5 separate regions of the Homo sapiens genome follow, and all the other regions are linked to region 1. Evidence: promoter capture Hi-C in 16 types of primary human blood cells and fetal thymus (Javierre and others, 2016). All regions are on one chromosome and are shown on one strand. Each heading gives the region's core, a stretch centred on a gene start or on the middle of the fragment in contact. The rest is flanking DNA. Distances are from core to core; before and after follow the strand shown.

What was found. The method cuts DNA at HindIII sites, captures the fragments that hold promoters and counts their contacts. A CHiCAGO score of 5 or more calls a contact.
Region 2: the fragment with the promoter of SERBP1 here is called in contact with the fragment with the promoter of ZRANB2 in region 1 in 6 of 17 cell types (total B cells, non-activated CD4 T cells, naive CD8 T cells and 3 more); the score reaches 11.9 in total B cells.
Region 3: a fragment that was not itself captured here is called in contact with the fragment with the promoter of ZRANB2 in region 1 in 2 of 17 cell types (activated CD4 T cells and total B cells); the score reaches 9.4 in activated CD4 T cells.
Region 4: a fragment that was not itself captured here is called in contact with the fragment with the promoter of ZRANB2 in region 1 in 6 of 17 cell types (total CD8 T cells, total CD4 T cells, activated CD4 T cells and 3 more); the score reaches 11.7 in total CD8 T cells.
Region 5: a fragment that was not itself captured here is called in contact with the fragment with the promoter of ZRANB2 in region 1 in 7 of 17 cell types (activated CD4 T cells, naive CD8 T cells, total CD4 T cells and 4 more); the score reaches 14.7 in activated CD4 T cells.

The regions. Positions count from the first base shown.
Region 1 is chr1:71,078,972-71,082,801 of GRCh38, forward strand. ZRANB2 (zinc finger RANBP2-type containing 2) reads right to left here and starts at 2,064. Exons shown (of 10, transcript NM_203350.3): 1 at 1,969-2,064. The coding sequence starts at 2,024. ZRANB2-DT (ZRANB2 divergent transcript) reads left to right here and starts at 2,353. Exons shown (of 4, transcript NR_046217.1): 1 at 2,353-2,442. RefSeq lists an enhancer at 2,014-2,303. The HindIII fragment of the contact is 3,322 bases long and covers 1,919-3,830 here.
Region 2 is chr1:67,428,719-67,432,548 of GRCh38, forward strand. It overlaps SERBP1 (SERPINE1 mRNA binding protein 1), which reads right to left and starts at 1,684. Exons shown (of 8, transcript NM_001018069.2): 1 at 1,270-1,684. The coding sequence starts at 1,582. RefSeq lists enhancers at 221-857, 1,493-2,128, 1,566-1,835, 2,046-2,125, 2,156-2,335. The HindIII fragment of the contact is 6,007 bases long and covers 895-3,830 here.
Region 3 is chr1:67,688,416-67,692,245 of GRCh38, forward strand. No RefSeq gene overlaps it. Among named protein-coding and RNA genes, the nearest start is that of GADD45A, 5.1 kb to the left of the region's middle. RefSeq lists a silencer at 1,211-1,505. The HindIII fragment of the contact is 2,434 bases long and covers 679-3,112 here.
Region 4 is chr1:74,205,065-74,208,894 of GRCh38, forward strand. The region is part of intron 3 of FPGT-TNNI3K (FPGT-TNNI3K readthrough); the gene reads left to right. FPGT (fucose-1-phosphate guanylyltransferase) reads left to right here. Exons shown (of 4, transcript NM_003838.5): 4 at 1-3,638. The coding sequence ends at 768. Among named protein-coding and RNA genes, the nearest start is that of FPGT-TNNI3K, 8.7 kb to the left of the region's middle. The HindIII fragment of the contact is 3,271 bases long and covers 352-3,622 here.
Region 5 is chr1:74,187,193-74,191,022 of GRCh38, forward strand. The region is part of intron 1 of LRRIQ3 (leucine rich repeats and IQ motif containing 3); the gene reads right to left. Among named protein-coding and RNA genes, the nearest start is that of LRRIQ3, 9.1 kb to the right of the region's middle. The HindIII fragment of the contact is 8,734 bases long and covers 1-3,830 here.

The sequences.
Region 1 (3,830 bases), core at 814-3,313:
CTCACATTAGCACATATCATTAGTTATAATCCCTTTACAAAGTTGAAAGTGAGAGTTAACTCCACTTCACTAATTACTTACAAGCTACCAGGGAGTTTTAAACCCTAGCGGTGGACCAATGAGGAAAAAAACTTATAAATCAAGGAGGGCTTCATGGATCTTAATGAAATTATCTTTTTACATGCAGTAGGTAGGATGCTAAGGAACCAAATATGATAGGTTGTACTGACTAAAAATACAAAAAGATTCAATAATTGTAAGAAAACTGAGTTTTACAGGGCATTTCTCAAACCTCTGAGACTTCGCTGAAAAAAATGACACAACCACCAAAACCAATAATCTCAACACATGTAGTACAGTAAGACTTTATGCTTATACTCAACAAACTCAAACCTAAAGAATTACTGGTTCACTCACATGACCTTAGAAGTGTACGTGTATATTGGTAAAAGTATGTTAAATGCTCTGGATAACATGGAATGCTTAAACTTTAAAAAGCTGATTTTTAAGGCATTATACTAGAATACAATACAGATGTGAAGTATGGGATGACACTAAAGTGAAACACTCTAAATAATATTTAGGTTAAGTTTTTCCCCTAAAAATATTCCTTTTAACTCCATTAAGCATGGAAAATATACTCTGAAAATTTATCCTGCATTTAAACATATTGTACAAACAACATTCTATTCATATATTTGTAAATGAGTTGAAATGAACTCTCATTGAGAGTCCTACCTCTGGGTGTGCTGTCATTAAAGACACTGACAAAAGCACATTATTTTACAGGTAACAACAAAGTCAGAAGTTGTTGTTCTAAATCTTTTGAACGTTTTCAATAATGTCTTACCACTCAGAGCAATACTATCCATAACATATAACTTTGGTTCTATTCAGTATCATTTGTTAGGCTTGAACTACTCCTTCAGGTCATCTTAATATCAAATTACTATCAATAGCCACCAATTAGAATTTGCTACACGTCACTGTTTACACACCCTATCCATGTTATTTCATGTTTTCATTAAAAAAAAAATTCTATTCCTTTTTTAGCAGTTAAATAAGTAATAGAATTTTAACTAAACCCAGGTTTATTTCAAAGTTTTTGCTTTTTACAATCAAAACCTATTTGTGGCTAACTTAGGTACAACAAATAAAAGGCTTTTATGTGAACATGAGTTGTACATTAAATTATTTTCCATGTTATTTCCGAATAGATACACCTATTTGTGCACCCTTCAAAAAAAATCTGATTAACTATCTAGTCGAGTACTGGCTTTGGCAACAATGTCAAAAAGCAGAGCCACTAACACACGTGCTTCTCTGCTGCAGGCATCTTAAGGGCTGAGTAGGCAAAAACACAGGCCTCTTCCCTCCTTTTCGGCTCTAAGGAGGCGAAAAGCCCAATTCTTGTGGAGAAATGATCCACAAAGAAAATGTCAGAATTTCCCAAACCGAAGAGGGTAGAGCTTCCGGAAAAGGGGAAAATAGTATGGAGGAAAAGTTTGAGTAAAAATACAAAACAAGGTGAACTATAAGAGGCAAAAGGACGAGTGCGAGAAAGCAATATTTTCCGTGAACAAGAGTAAAGTTCTGCAGAGAAAAGTCACGTGGGGGAGATCCAACACCAAGCTGGCCTGACTGGAGAGGTTTCCTATCGCTAAAACCTGGCCGGGGCGGGGGAGGGGGGTGGGGGCAAAAAGGTAGGCCATCTCGCACTCTAAAAAGAGAGGCTACCTTGCGGAGGTAATGTCGAGGAAACGCTGAAGACATATCTAGAACAAAGGCTCCCGGAAAGACCTCTCTCGTGAGGAGATTGGGAGCCTTCTTCCCGCCAGGGAACTGGCGGTTCGCCGCCTCAACCCGTCTTAAGGCACAGAAAATCATAAAAAAGGAAAATGCCGGACGGACCTCGGAAAGCTTCCACTAACAAACTCCGTCCCAATTCAGGACCCTTCTTGAACTCACTTTTTGTCAGGGCAAATCCAGTCCCCGTCACTGACTCGGAAATTCTTGGTCGACATCTTGAACGCCACCAGCACAGCCACCCGCAGCTATGTCTTCACAGGAGGAAAACGGGCCGGGGACTTTCGGCAACTCGGGGCTGTCCCCACACTGCCTGACTCGCGCCTACTACTGTGTCAGGGTTTGATAATGAGGGAACTAGCCAGGAATTCAGCTTGTACGTTGTTGTCCAGACTAAGATGCCTGTGCTACTGTTTGTTAGATGGAAAAGTTAAAATACAAATATCTTTTCTAGAACTAAACTCACAGGCGCCATAAGGACAACCCAGGCAGGAGGCCTTCGTGGCACTAGAAGCCTCGGAGAGCCCCCTACAGGTGGGAGGACCCAAGAGTAAAGTACTTCCGCTTCCTTAGGTGGAGCTGGAAAGGTGGAGGCGGAAGTGACTGATCAATTCAGGGGCGTGGGGTTCGTTTAGGGTAAGAGGCGGCTCGGGCTCTTCAAGTGTTTAGAGAAATTATTTTAATAAGGCATAAAAATTCTGTTATTTCATACACATGGGATGTCGTTTGGAAACCTATTTTTATATATACATAAATAGGTGTAACAGATAAGTAAGCAACTTATACATGGGAACCAGCTGGTAATTTTAAAACTGAGACATTGTCAACACTGTTTAAATTACCAGTGTCTTTTCTGATACCATCCCATTACTTTCTTCCACAGATAACACTTTCCCATATTTGGGATTTATTCTTTTGCTTTTTAAAAATTTATGTACGTTGTTAGTCCAAACTGCACCATTTTTGTAAGCCCCCCTGCCATTTTGCAGACCTTAGTCAAAGTGAAACATTCCACGGGGTTCGGGCGTGAGAAACAGGCTGCCTCTTATACTCTGCTGGGAGAAAGTACCACATTCCACTGGAACAAGGGCCAGAGCCGCCTCGTCCTGGGAACACCTTATCAACATGTTCCCAGGAAGCAGGCCATGGCCCCCCAGACCACTCCCACCCAGGCCTATAAATCACCCCAGCCTGTAAGAAGCAACGGGCACTGGCATTAAGCTGGTCTCCCACCTCTGTAGGTCTTATGCTGGACATAAATCCTGTATTTGTTGTTAAGCCACCCTCTCTTTCTTTAATCCTTGCCTTCCCTTCAAAACCTAACATACATGTATGTTTAATTTTATGAGCTGTGTAAGCATAGTTGATTCTGTACTCTTTTTTTGTTCATTATGCTTCTAAATTAATCCTAGGTAGTTGCATGTAGAAGTGTATAGGTGTAATTCTTTTATTTGCACTGATGTATACTGATACTATTCCGTTTTGTGGTTTTGTGACAGTTTATTCCTTCTGTTTCTCAGGCTTGGTATTACAAACAACACCAGTATGAGCATTCTTATGCATAGATTCTGGTATATAAATGCATTAATTTTTTTTAGAATACAGCATATACAGTCATGCCTCACTTAATGATAGGGATATGTTCTGAGAAATGCCACTTTCGGCAATTGTGCTGTTGTGTGAACATCATAGAATGTGCTTACACAGGCCTAGCAGGTATAGCCTACTACACACCTAGGCTATATGGTATAGCCTATTGCTCCTAGACTACAAACCTGCATTTAGTACATCTTATTGTACTAAATACTGTAGGCAGTTGTAACGCAGTGGTATTTGTGTATCTAAATATAAAGGTACAGTAAAAATATGGTATTGTAATCTTATGGGACCACCTTTGTATATGTGGTTCATCATTGACTGAAATGTCTTTATGCAAGTATGATTATGTTTAGGAGAGAAATTGTTCAACTACTCTCTAGTTATGATTGTTGCTTTAAAATCTGTATTATAACATTTTGGTCATC
Region 2 (3,830 bases), core at 434-2,933, 3.7 Mb before region 1:
GCCTCACAAAAGTCCTCAAAAAAAAAAAAAAAAACCCTCCTAAAACAAATCCTACCACGAGAAAATTGTTTTGATTTTTAAAATTAGTTCACTGTTACAGAATTCAACTAAAGCTAAAGAGAAACAACTCCTTTCAGAGAAGCACGTGGCAGGAAGGGGTAATTTCAACTTTCAACATATAAATGCAGCTTTAAAGATTCAGACCTTAGGTCCAACACCTGCTTGCTATTGATCATGCACGTTCTTATCTCCAAACTGCTTGCTCTTTTTTTTCATCCGCAACAAACTGGTAAAGCGAATGCAAAAATCAAGACAATCCTGTGAAACTCACAGTGCCCTAGAAACAACTATTAACCGCCAGTGAAACTCTGACCATGCTTCACGCACATGTGGTGGAAAAAAAAAACTGCGAACTCTAAAGAGCTCTGCTGCGACTAACGCTGTGACAGCCTCTGCACTCACTTCACCCACGAGGCCCAGACCCCACCACGTGAAAGATTCAGTTTGGGGAGTCGAGAGAGAGGATCGTGACTCGAGGACGTTCCTCGGGATGTCCTGCAATCACCAGTCTTCATTCATAATTCCCGCTCCTGGTTAATCGAGTGTGGCCAAACTCCTCCATTTCCCAACGGCTCAACTCACCCCAGCAAGTTATGAGAAAGTCCTAACAGTTGAGAGGTGGAAGAGAAACAAATAAAGGACATGCGGCACCCCAACCTGCAGCTTACTCCACACGTCTGATGGCCTGGAACGACCCCCTGCTTTTCAGCGGGGATACTCCGCGCCGTCGTGGGACAAGACGGCAGGACAGGAGCCTGAAACAACAGCACCTCAAAGGAGCAGCTCTGCGCAGTAAGCAGCGATGGACCCCCAAGCTCCTCCGTAACTACGGAAAGCTTCGGTGAGGGGCCGGCTTCCCCGCACCTCAGTCCATGCGCTCACCCGCCAAGGAATCCGGCGGGAAGGCAACAGCCTCCCAGGACCTCGAGCGCGCTCGAGGAGCAGCTCATCTCCGACCACGCTCCTCTGCTCACAACCTGAGGCGGGAAGGGGATGGCTCCGAGAACCTCGCCGGCGGTGGCTTGAACTTGGGGCTACCACGCTCCTGGCACCTTCGCAGGACCGGACTTTTGTCGCGTGAAGAAACGTGAGGATATAGGCGGCAAAGTCTCCCGCGGACCCTCGGAGCTCCAGAAACAAGTGGCAGCCGGCAGCCCCCTCGCTCCTTCCCTCCATCCCAGTCTCCCCCACATTCTGCCCCTGCTTTACCTTCTTTCTTAAGCGCCACGGGCGGCTGCGTCTCCTCTTTCTTGTCAACCACGCCAACGCTGGGGGGCAGCGGGTTCTTGCGGTCTTTCTGGGACTCCTTGCGCAGCTGTTTGCCTGCCGCGTTGGAGTTGGTCTGGGCCGCGGCCTGAGCTGCGCTCTTGGCCCCAGGGCCCCCAACGCCGCCCCCGCCGGCTTCTTTTTTCTTGTTCTCTGCTGCCTTCAGCACCTCGAAGGGGTCCGATTCGTCGTCAAATAACTGGTCGAATCGGTTGGTGACCACGCAGCCGAAGCCTTCCTGTAAGTGCCCAGGCATGATGGTGGCTCGGCGGCGCGTTCCTCCACGGATTGCAGCGGGCCGCGCCGAGCCAAGAGCGCCTGCTTCAGCTCTTCCCACAAGATGGCCGGGCCGAGAGAGGGGGGCCGTCTTCTCTTCCGGCGCCAGGCACACATCCGGGAGCGGCCTGCGCCGCAAGGCACTGTGGGGTATGTAGGCCAGAGTCATTTCTCCTGAGGCGACTCTCCGCGTCGGGACTACAATTCCCAGGACGCACCGCGCGACAACTCTTCGCGCGCGCCTGAGAGGCGAGACCCCATGAGGGGAGTGAAGCGTGCGGGCTGAAGGAAGGGAAGCGTGGTGGTGGGCGGAGTCCTGCCACCTGCTCTGGCCACCCTTAAACTCTCTAGGTCTTCAGCTACCTTGAAACCAAAAAACCGTGACGGCGTAACTGACTCGCGAAAGTGCTCTTTGGTTTCACTCACGCCCCCTCGGGCTCAGGGCTAACTTTCCCCACCGCTCCAGGGGGGTCAAGGTGACTCCCAGACCTTACATCTGAGACGCACAAACTTCCGGGGGAGGGGGTGTTGCTGAGGCGCCGCGCCGGCCGCGGGTAGGCTGGACCCTGCCTGTGCCAAGTCCGAGCTGCTCAGTTGCTGGAGTGGCCCTCCGTCAGCCTCCACGGTGAATCGAGGCTCTTCTGTCTAATGTGAGGGGGAATACGTTTCCTCTCGCGGGGACATGAACTAGGGTAGCAGAACTAACCAAAAAGACAAGTGAAACTATCACATGGGAGCGTGGCGCGTCTTTCCCGGGCTTCTCACCGTGTGGCGGCGGGTGTCGTAGGAGTGGTTAACTCCTGACGGTGCAGCGCTAGACGCGGGGCAAGCCTCCAGGAAGCACTGTTTATAGAAACCCTGTTACAATTATTCCAATTAATCGTCCGTTCGTGTCCGGCAAGTCAGGGCTTAGGTGGCTGTGTTGTTAGTCACATGCGCTCAATACATATCATTTGAGAACATTTCGAGTGCATGTGTGCTAGGAGTTGCGGTGAGGGGAGGGAAATATTGAAGTCAACACTTAATAATGACAAAGCATTGATACTAGTTGAGAATATTAAAATTCATTAAAAGAATACAATTTGAATGCGTATTTAAGCACATTTGGTAGCACCGGGTTTAAGTATATCATAATTTTTAAGTCCTTTTCCATTAACACAAAGTAGCAAATGCATCGCTTATTTGGTAGGAGCTATGAATAACCTTGAACTCAACATTTTGTTAGGCAAATAGTTTGCCTCTTTTCACAAATGTTGAAACCACTTCAGAGATGAAATGATTTACCAAATTCACACCTCTGTAAGTGCTAGTGACAGGCATTAGCCCAGTATTCTATCTCCACTAGGAGACTGGACATCAGCTCTTTAATTCAGACTGCCCTGATAGAAAGCAGTCCAATTTTTAAATTTCCGATATAATTTAAACATTGTTGCGTGTCAGGATATGTAACATGGCGGAATGTAATCATCAATTTCCGAGCAGATTTTAAATCAATTCCTTAGCAGGGAAAATAGAAGACACGAGTCATATTACATACATGGGGCAGCAAGCCTCCTGGTTTTCTTGTTTCTCAATCCTCCCCTATTCCTCACTTATTTCCCTGCTGCCTCAGTCCTGCACCCTGCCCACAACGCCCAACCTCAAACACACCCCCTATCTCATCCCCCCTTCCACAGGCTCTGGTTCTGTGGCACCTACCAAGACAAGGAGCTTTTGACCATACTCTTCCCACCTTTTTGAAATAGCTCAAGTGCAATGTAGAAGATCTCCACATTTTGACAGATTTTCTCTCTTCACGGGCTGTTGCGTCTCTGAGACTGCCTGCATCTTTGAGACATCTGTGAAAGCTCCTCTTCTTAACTCTTTCTGGCCACGGCCACAGTAACAATATTCATACTAAAACGTGATGTTTTAGTGTGTGCTTGGTGCACTTTACATACGTGATCTCCTTTAAACCTTACATCAACTCTATAAGAAAGTTATTACTCCATACCTCCCCCCCGCAAAAAAAAAGTTATTGCTCCTGTTTTAAGATTAGGAAAATGAAAACAAAGAGCTTAAGTAAGTTAACTACTCCTGCCACAATCTGGGGGGTGGGGCAGGCCTGTTGTTATTCATTTTTCTCCTCCATTACAGATTTCTGGTTTGCTCAAACAGAGCTTCGTAACCACCAAGCATTATTACAATAAGAATATTTGAAAATAAGCTACACATAGAGGAATTTTCTG
Region 3 (3,830 bases), core at 646-3,145, 3.4 Mb before region 1:
ATAATCAGAAAGCAGGTGATTTAAAGGAGTTGGAGTTGTCAGGAAAAAGGGATGGTTAGAGATTCAGCTTGCAAAATTTGAATAATTAAAGATAAATGATATTAGCGCCGTAATAAGATTATACACAAAATGTTGAGGAGGCAGAGAGGACAGAGTGACTAAAGTTACCTACCAGTTTTTACTGAAGAGAGATCATTTTATGTTGGTCTTAGTGAGTTTTATTTCCCTAGTTACAGAGGGCAAAGGGATATTGCTAGCAGCTGCATTAGTTTGTGCAAAGGTGTGGAGGCCTGAAAGACCACAACCAGGTCAGTAAAAACAGAGTGATTGTGTGTGTGCCTCTGGTGTAGAAAGATAAGGGAGCAGCGGGGCTGAAAAGGAAGGTGGGGATTAGGCCCAGGCTGTGAAGGCATTCTGTGTTACCCTTATGCATTTGGGCTTCCTTCTGTAAACTTCAGGCAGATAGCGGAGCCCCTGAAGGAAGTGGCATGATCAGTGTTCTAGGAAAGTAACACCGGGGTCTGTGAAAGATGATTATTGGGATGAGCAGCTGTAGGTGACAAGGCCAGTTAGGAAGTGACTAAGAATCCAAGGTTGTGCATTTTGCAGAACCATTTTTACAGAGCAAACAGGGAAGTGGCCAGGCAAGGTTTTTTGCTGCCCCTAGTCTCTTCCTAAAGCTTTGTGCTTTCCAGCTGAACATTTCTATGGTTCTGAGGGGTCTGCTTAAATTCTATCAGATGGAATAGATGGCAGAGAAGAAAAGCAAAAGAAAAGTCTTCAGTAGAACAATCATTTTTAGTTAGAACAGTCACTTGATAATTAACTCCAACAATCTTGTAGGCATAGACCAAAGAAAGCAAAAATGCTTATGGAGGCAAGGCCTAGCCTTGCTTTTGTCCACAGGAATTTTCTTATCCTATTTCTCAAACCGTCCCCCTTATGGCTCCCCTGCCATCTGTCTTTCATCCTAGTCATGACTACATACAATCAGAAGAAAGGGTAGGGAAAACCCACTAATAGCAACAAAAAGCTCCAAGTTTCTGCATATATTATGAATACATAGCTCCATGAGCCCTTCACCTTGCAAATGACTCTCTTTTCCCACATCTGCTAGAATTGTGGGGTTTTAGGCCTTGTTTAGGCTTCTTGTATCTTTTCACAAGTGACTTTTTCTACATCTGCTAGAAATGTGGGTTTTTAGGCTTATTTAGGCTTCTTGTATCTTTTTAAAATCCAGTGCCCACTCCAAAACATAACTGGTATTTAATATTTGTTTCTTACATTACCAAAAGATTGAGAGCAGTGAGTTTTAAATAGCAAGGTGTTTTGCCTTCCCATTGAAGTAAGGTTTTTTTCAGCCCTTTTTCACAACGATTTGGTAAGAACCCTCTTGCAGAGATGAATGAATTAAAGTGGAGACACACAGTGGATAAAGCTGGTTTGCTTAGTGGAACGAGCACAGTAGCAGCTAGCCTTGATTAGTCCTTCTTCATCCTGTTTTACTCATGTAAAATGGAGATAAGATTACCTATCTTGCAGACTTGTGGCCTCTCCTACAACTCTGCAACCTCCCTCAAGGCAGGTAATGTCTGGTTCATTATTGTAGCCCAGTAGTGGACACAAGTGCCAGCAAGCAGTAGGTGCTGAATTAATATTTATTGAATAAATGAATGATTAGAAATAATGAATACAAACTACCTGGCACATGATAGGTGCTCAATGGAGTGTGGCTGTTTCTAAAACCCAGGTGATAGCAATAGGAAAACTTAAGGCATCAGAGAGATCTGTGTTATGACATGTACATCTATATAACTATGTTTTTCAAAAAGAATTTTTGATCTTTATTCTAAATTCATAATGCTTAGAGATATGTAATAGTACTTATACATTCTTCAGATTGTTTTGAGGAAAATCTCAACAATTACTGTAATGCCATTTGGTTTCTTCAAAAATTTTAAACTCTTGTTTTTCTTTCCTGATTGAGCATAACATAAAGTTAACACAGCATTGAAAAACCCAATCATGAAACAGTTAATTTTAAACAAATATAAAATTACCTGGATGGCTTCTATCTCTAATTGATGCAAATATTCTTTAGTCGTTGCCTTAAAAACCATTAAATGTACTTATTGCAAGCTACGTTACAACAAGAACAGAAATCCCCTCATCTACCTAAGGTGTATTGAATGTTGAAAAGTGGAAAATACCTAATTTTTCCACTGGCAACTTCACCTCAGTGTCATAAATAGCATTGCTTCCTCCTTTCCACACTTAACCTAGGATCTTGGTAAGTTAAACTTTTATAATGAAAGGACCCATGAAAGTAGCTAATCTCCTATAATACATACCTTAGTTCCCAAATAAAGAAAAAAGGGTCATTTTTTAGGAAAGAATTATTTGTATACTGTCAATTGAAATATTTCCAAAGCATGTTTTGAGATGCCTTACTGGAGCCCTTGTGAAATAATTGCTTAATTTTCATTTATATAGGTAGAATTTTATTCTTTGATATGTGGTAAAAGACTGAAATTTGGGAGATAAGTTCTCTTCAAATGAACAAAACTCAGTGGCATGATTTGACACCAAGTAAGTATCCCTCAAAGAAGTGAATACTTTTTTTCTTTTTAACAATACTTTGGTAAACATAAGAACCTCTGTGAAAAGGTCGTATTCATGAAAACCACCAAGAAATATTAAGTGAGTGCTTACTGTGGACAAGGGACTATGCTGGCTATATTGAAGTCTACCAAAAAAAAAAAAAAAAAAAATCAGACACACACTCTGGCCTCAAGGACTTCGTATCACTACATAAATACAAAACAGAAAATTACCAGCAACGTAAGAAAGGCCCAGAGAACTGTTCTGGAAGTTCAAAGGATAGAAATCTCCAGAAGGCATATAGGAATGGAATGGAGAAAAAGGTTGTAAACTCTTTGTTCATAAGCTAGCATCGTATTTTGCAAACAGCACAAAAATGTGATCGATTGATTGAATATTGAATATAATTTTGCTAGGTGCTATGAAGAATACAAAGATGTAGCCTATTAGAGCATTTCTCCTTAAGTTGACAATCTATAAGGAAATCATTAAGCACATTAAAAAAAAGATAAGCTTGTTCATTTCAATCATGCTGCTTATTGAATGCCTATCATTTTCCTGGCACTATGTTAGGTCCCAAGGCCACAAAGGTGAAAAAGCAGCCACCTTTAAGGATATGTACAATTTAGTAGGGATACCTGATACCTGTAATACTAGGTGACAAGTGATAATGAGGTATATTCAAGACCTAAGTGTTCCTGGGGCCAGGGAATGTTTGCCAGGTTCAGTGAGACCTGAAAGATGAAGAGATCTGCCAGGTGAATGTGAAGGGCATTTACTCCAGGAGGAGGAACTATAGCTCAGGAAGGTACACACTGAAGGCATGTTTGGAGCTAGCTTTTGGGTGACAGCAACACTCATACAAGATTTACTACATCCTGAGCACTGATCTAAGCATTTTATCAACAGGAACTCATTAGCACTCTCAACAACCCTGTGGGAGTAGGTACTATTATTAGCCCCATTTTGAAGGTGAAAATACTGACACACAGAGATCTTAAGTTGCCCAGAATCATACTGTAAGTGGCAAGACCAGGATGCAAACATGTCCTCCAGTGATGGGTGATGGAGTGGGAAAGATGGTAGAAACCAGAGCATGATTTTCTGGCAGGCCAAGCTTCTTTTCTACTAGGTGATAGAAAGCCATTAAAATTAATTGGTAAAACTAAGAGAAGAGACAGATGCTGTCACCACCAAGAGACAGACAATGAAAAGATGATGCTATAGCT
Region 4 (3,830 bases), core at 737-3,236, 3.1 Mb after region 1:
CTTCTTAAAGGAACATCACTAAATGTTGTTGTTCTTAATAACTCCAAATTTTATCACATTGGAACAACCGAAGAATATTTGTTTTACTTTACCTCAGATAACAGTTTAAAGTCAGAGCTCGGCTTACAGTCCATAACTTTTAGTATCTTTCCAGATATACCAGAATGCTCTGGCAAAACATCCTGTATCATTCAAAGCATACTGGATTCAAGATGTTCTGTGGCACCTGGCTCAGTTGTGGAGTATTCCAGATTGGGGCCTGATGTTTCAGTTGGGGAAAACTGCATTATTAGTGGTTCTTACATCCTAACAAAAGCTGCCCTCCCCGCACATTCTTTTGTATGTTCCTTAAGCTTAAAGATGAATAGATGCTTAAAGTATGCAACTATGGCATTTGGAGTGCAAGACAACTTGAAAAAGAGTGTGAAAACATTGTCAGATATAAAGTTACTTCAATTCTTTGGAGTCTGTTTCCTGTCATGCTTAGATGTTTGGAATCTTAAAGTTACAGAGGAACTGTTCTCTGGTAACAAGACATGTCTGAGTTTGTGGACTGCACGCATTTTCCCAGTTTGTTCTTCTTTGAGTGACTCAGTTATAACATCCCTAAAGATGTTAAATGCTGTTAAGAACAAGTCAGCATTCAGCCTGAATAGCTATAAGTTGCTGTCCATTGAAGAAATGCTTATCTACAAAGATGTAGAAGATATGATAACTTACAGGGAACAAATTTTTCTAGAAATCAGTTTAAAAAGCAGTTTGATGTAGAGATATTTTAAATATTGTACACTTTGCCTTTTTGAGTAACATTCCAGAGATAGGTATTTTTTGTAGGCTGTTTCACTGAACTCAGTTAATGAAAACTGTATTAACATAATTGTTGTAGCATAATATTAATAGTGCAAAAGTACATATAAGTCATTTTGATGAAAAATATTCCAAGACTAAGTTGAGAAAAGAGATACTATTTTGGATGTGTATCAGTATTTTTGTTTTTAATAATGATTGATTTGTGGAGCATTGTTTTTTCACATAATTAGTTTTAAAGGTAATTTTCTAAGCATACCTTTGGAATTTTTCCATCTTTTTTGAGGCTTTTGGTCCAGTGAAGTTCTAAGTATTCACTGGCACTTCTCTCCTCAACTGTAATTCTATTTTTAATAATAAAAATGGCATACTGTAGGGTCTTCAGAGTAGTGTAGGAATACTGTAGAAATACTTTTTCAGAAACGAATCCATAGCTGACAAATTCACTCAGTGCCCAATATATTGTGATTATTTTCGTTGATAAAGAACTAGATACAAAGACCTCTGAAATTGATGATAAAATTTGTATCTCATTAATTTTATCAAAATGAAACTAAAAGTACATATGTATTATACACTTGAACATGTGTTTGTATATCTTTAAAATTTTCCTTTATGTTCCATTCCATAGGAAAACACACATATGCACACAAAACTCAGTTATCTGTGGGGAAAGTGGTAGTAATAATTGAGATTCATCAATAATCATATAATTTCACTATAGACATTACTTGCATTATCTCCTATCAGTCCTTCTAACAAAACTTCAATTACCAGATGAACTGACTTTAGTTTTCATCTTATTTTTTGTCCACATGCTGGTGATGCTGAGAAACAATAATTGGCCCAAATGCAGACATCAAGAAGCAGGCAGGAAAATGGAAAAACTGAGATAATACACAGGTGATAAACAGTTTCGAGAAAATAAAAATTGGCTAGAATCTCAAGTTATGTGTTTCTATATTGGTATAAGCATATAAGTGAAAAGTCTTATAAGTGTAATAGAGAAAAGATTTGTCAGTGTGTTTTTTTAAATGAAATAACTAGTCTGTGCTACTTTATGTCAATATAAAAATTGGTAAACTAGAAGTAACTTGTCCACAACCCTCAGTTATGATACTTATGTGCGTGTTTTTTTTTCCAAAGTTTTTCCCAAGGAGAAGATACAAATATATGGTAGCTATTGTTTAAAAATGATTGATTTACTTGCAGATTTTTCAGAGGATGTTATGTCTTTGTCATTCATTAAATGTTCAAAATTGTAGTTTTACCAAATCTGAAGTGCCATCAGTTATAAGAATCACCATTATTTTATGTTCCATTAAGAAAAACACAATAAAACATGACACTGCTTTTTTTGTTACTTGAAATTTTCATATTTATTGGAGAGCTCTTTTAGATGTTTTTAAATACAGATTTTTATTTAACCCTCTTGCATATACATATAAAATAACAAAAAAATAAAATATTGAGATATCATCAAGAAATTTCTACAGCTTCACATTCAAACTCTTCAGCACTTTCAGAGCTATTGATATGCATATGTCCACCTAGTACCATCTTCTCTGCTTTCAGAATTATTGGTAAGGCTGCATTTCCTGAGTGCTCTACCACACTTATGTCTGGATTTTTTTTACCCAGCTACAGACCCACACTCCTGCAAGATTTGATACCCTTCTATTTGGCAAAACTCAGTTTCACTTTTCTTTCAGTTTAATCACAGGTCCTTAGAAGATCGGACCTGTGATTCTATTCAAAGTCAGAAAGAGATTTCTCACAAATTGACGTCATATTAACATGTCAATATGAAAATTAATTGTTTGGTAAACCAGAAGTGACCTGTCTGAAGCCCTCAATTGTGGTATTTGTGTGTTTGTTTTTTCTTTTTCAAGATTCTTTTTAAAGAAAATATATGGTAGCTGTTGTTTAACATTTATCTACTTACAGAGCGTTCAGAGGATGTTATATGTTTATTAAGTGCTCAATACTGTATTTTAACCTAATCTGAATTTTAATCATAATCCTGTACAATGCATGGATTCTGGTTGCTTTGAAATGGTTCTGTTCAAAGGACTTATCAATGTCTCTTGCTTTGAGATGTATTGCTTGGTGTGTAGTAGCACAAACGTACCACCAATAATGTACCTAATTCAACTGAAGTGACAGTCATATACGCAGATATGACCAAGTTCACATGTGAGCAAGTAACAACTCCATGACTATTGCTGCCTGGCTAATAGCTATTATACTATCATTTGTAAGGCACATTCTGTTTTCTGGGGTGTCGAAATGTGGATAAAAAAAGATGAATTAGGAATGATTCTAACCTAAGTATGTGTTTTAATAAAAGGATCTAGGCAAAAAAAAAAAAAGTAAGTCACTCCTAAATTTAATCCCTGAATAATGCAGTGTACATGATGATAGAGGAGAAGTGTGTTTTTGATAAGAAGTGACTAAATTTTGTGACAATCTTAATTTTTTAGGCTTTTCATTTAGTCTTCCAATAAAGATAATTTTTTTCTGAGTTTTATCAGCAGTAGAAAAATAAGACCTACATGGATAAGTTTGAAATTAAACATTTTGTCTCATTTTATAATTTTTATTTTTATGAAATCATGGCACTTACATCATATACTCAGGTGTGTAAAAGCCTGCTATTTGTAACTATAATCCATAAACTTATTGATGATTTAATAACTATCAACAAGGGCATGGGAAAAATTCAACATTTGATAATAATCTTTTACCTTAGGCATTTATTCTCTAAGCAAAGCAGAAATAAAGGATATGTATCAGTGTATACTGATTGAAATAAAGCTTTAAAAATCCAAGTGATACTCTGAAATTGTCAAAAGTTTAATGGCATGAATCCAGGATTAATTCCCATAACCTGTGATGATCTAGTCATCTTCTGTAGCTACATAGTACTCCTAATGTTAAGATTACCAAATTCAGCAATAAAGCCAAAATCAAAACTGCCTTCTGTCACATATAGCTGTTAAGTAAACTACACAAAATCAGAG
Region 5 (3,830 bases), core at 868-3,367, 3.1 Mb after region 1:
AAATAATTCATTATATAAAAAAGACACATGAACATACATGTTTATAGCAGCACAACTCACAATTGCAAAGATATGGTACAAACCTAAGTACCCATCAACTAATTAGTGGATTAAAAAAATGTGAGAGAGATATATAGATATATATATATAGGTATATGTTTACACACACACACACACACACACACACACACCATGGAATACCACTCAGCCACAAAAAGGAACAAAACAATGTCTTCTGCAGCAACTTGGATGTAGCCCAGAAGGCTATTATTCAAAGTGAAGTAACTCAGGAATGGAAAACCAAATATCATAAGTTCTCACATATAAGTGTGAGCTAAGCTGTGAGGATGCAAAGGCCTAAGAATGATATAATGTACTTTGAGGACTCAAGGGTGAAGGTTGGGAGGGTCACGAGGTATAGAAGACTACATACTGGGTACAGTGCACACTGCTTGGGTGACAGGTACACTCAAATCTCAGAAATCATCACTAAAGAACCTATCCATGTAACAAAATAGCACCTGTACCCCAACAACTATTGAAATAAAAATTAAAAAACAACAAAAAAAGTCAAAAAATAACAGATGCTGGTGATGTGGAGAAAAAGGAACGCTTATACATTGTTGGTGGGAGTGTAAATTAGTTCAACCATTGTGGAAGACAGTGTGGCAATTTCCCAAAGACCTAAAAACAGAAACAACATTTGACCCAGCAATCCCATTACTGGGTATATACCTAAAGCAATAAAAATTGTTCTATTATAAAGACACATATACGTATGTTCACTGCACCACTATTCACAATAGCAAACACATGGAATCAACCTAAATGCCCATAAATGGTAGACTGGATAAAGAAAATGTGGTACATTTACACCATGGAATACTATACAACCATAAAAAGAATGAGATCATGTCCTTTACAGGAACATGGATAAAGCTGGAGGATATTATCCTCAGCAAAAAAATGCAGGGATAGAAAACCAAATACTGCATTTTCTCCCTTATATGTGGAAGCTAAATTATGAAAACACATGGACACATAAAGGGGAACAACACACTGGGGCCTACTAGAGGGAGGAGAGTGGGAGGAGGGAGAGGATTAAGAAAAATAACTAATGGGCACTAGGCTTAACACCTGGGTGACTAAATCAATTGTACAACAAATTACCCTGAAACAAGATTACCTATGTATCAAACCTGTACATCTATCCCTGAACTTAAAGCAAAAATTTAAAAAATCCAAACTATTAAGAACCCTGGCTTCTTAGTTAATGAAATGTGCTAACCTGCTATCTTAGGATGTTACACTTCTCTCTCAGTGTAACCTTCTTTGGCAAATTATTGTCTAGTCATTATTTAGACTCTGATTCTATCCACACATCCCCAATTTAGTGATTACATATTTATATATGTTATTATTTAATGGCCCTGTTTTCCACTAAATTATATGTACCCTGTGAACAGAAAACTTGTTTTATGGTTAGGTAGTTTTTCAAATTTTTCCATAGGACCTGAACTAGAACTGAGTCAGGTTTCAATAAATGTCTCTTTCATACACATGTCTGTCTTTTCCTTTCCTCAGAGAAACAGCAAACTATGGGGAAGGAACCTGTAAAAGACTTCTAAGTACAAATGACAAAGTCTCTCCCATTTCGGTAGAAATCTATTGTAAATTCCTTTATTTTTAATTCTCCACAGCCAATAATCACTTGCAAAACAACAAAAAAGGTTTATTTTTCAATTATTTATGTAGTGTAACAAATCACTCCAAAATTTATTGGCTTAAAATAACCATCATTTTGTTACTCTGAAGATTCTGTGTGTTGACTCAGTTGAAGTAAGCAGTTCTCCAACTGACAGTGGCTGAAGCATCAGTTAGTTCACTCCTCCAGTGAACTGCTGGAAGGTTAGGTTCAGCTGGAATGCTGAGATGAACCAGTCTTTCTTTCCATACTGTCTCAGGACCTCTCTATGTTGACCTGTCCTCTCCATGTCATCTATCCATGTGTGTCTGAAATAGGGTAGCCAGACTTTCTACATGCTTAAGGGCTCCCAAAGCATAAAAGCAGAACCTGTCCAAACTTCCTAAGGCTTAGGTTCAACTGAAGCGTCTCCTCAGCCACATTCTACTGGTTACGACAAGTTCATTTTATTTTTCAAGCACCCTATAAACTAAGTACAGAAAAAGGAAATGAAATGTAAGTTGTTCTGAGATTGGTGATCTCAAGTAAATTATGTATGCTGTGCCTCAGTTTCCTTATCTGTAAAAAGAAGATAATAATAACAGCCCATAGAATTTTTATGAGGACGAAATAAGTCAACCTAAAGGGTTTAGAACAGTGTTTGGCACTTAATGATATGGTTGGGCTGTGTCCCCACCCAAATCTCATCTTAATTGTAGCTCCCATAATTTCCACTTGCTGTGGGAGAGACCCAGTGGGAGATAATTGAATGATGGTGGCAGTTTTCTCCATACCGTTCTTGTGGTAGTGAATAAGTCTCATGAGAGCTGATGGTTTTATAAGGGGAAACCCCTTTTTCTTTGTTCTCATTCTCTCTTGTCTGCTGCCATGTAAGATGTGACTTCCACCTTCTACCACGATTCTGAGGCCTCCCCAGCCACATGGAACTGTGAGTCCACTGAGCCTCTTTTTCTTTATAAATTACCCGGTGTTGAGTGTGTCTTTATCAGCAGCATGAAAACAGACTAATACAGTAAGCACTACAAAATTAATTGAATGCCTAGTTCCATTAACAATTCAAGATAAAATATATGCTTCAAAAAGTGTATCAAGGGACCTGCAGTTTCCAGTATGGCATGTAAGGAGCTTGGAGTAGTCACTCCATCCTAACAACACATTAGAAAGCTGAACAAACTAAAAATCAACAACTTTTCTTAGCTACACAAAGTAAGGTCATAGGGTAAACTGCTGACCACAAAATTGGAGCAACAGACAGGCAGTACAGAAACTCATCAGGAACAGACACACAGATGTCAGGGATGTTGGAAATATCAGACTGGGAATTGAAAACAACTAGGATTAATATGCTAATGGCTCTAATAGAAAAAGTAGGCAACATACAAGAACAAATGGATAATGTAGGTAGAGAGATAGATATTCTAAGAAAGAATAAAAAAGAAATGGTAGAGACCAAAAACATTATAACAGAAATGAAGAATACCTTTGAAGGGCTCATTAGTAGATGGGACATGACTGATAAAAGAATCTCTGACTTTGAGGATATGTCAACAAAAACATTCAAAACTAAAAACCAAAGAGAAAAAAAAAGACTGAAAAAAAACATAACATTCCAGAAGTGTGGGACTTCTAAATGTGTAACATACGTGTAATAAAAATGCCAAAAAAGGAAAAATAGAAAGGAATAAAAGCAGTATTTAAAACAATAATGAATGACAATTTACTCTAACATCGGACACTAAGCCACAGATTCAAGAAACAGAGAACATCATGTAGGATAAATGTAAGAAAATAAAAAAAAAACAACCTCACACCTAGATAATTAATATACAAACTTCAGAAAATCAAAGGTAAAAAAAAAATCTTGGAAAAAGCCAAAGAATTTTTAAAAAATCTTACTTATAAAGGATCACAGATAATAACGACATTTGATTTATCAGAAACCATGCAGGCAGAAGATAGTGGAGTGAAATATTTGAAGTGTTAAGAGAAAAAAAACTCACTGACCTAGAATTTATAAGGGGAAACCCCTTTCACTTGGTTCTCATTCTCTCTTGTCTGCCGCCATGTAAGATATGCCTTCCACCTTCTGTCATGATGCTGAGGCCTCCCCAGCCACATGGAACTG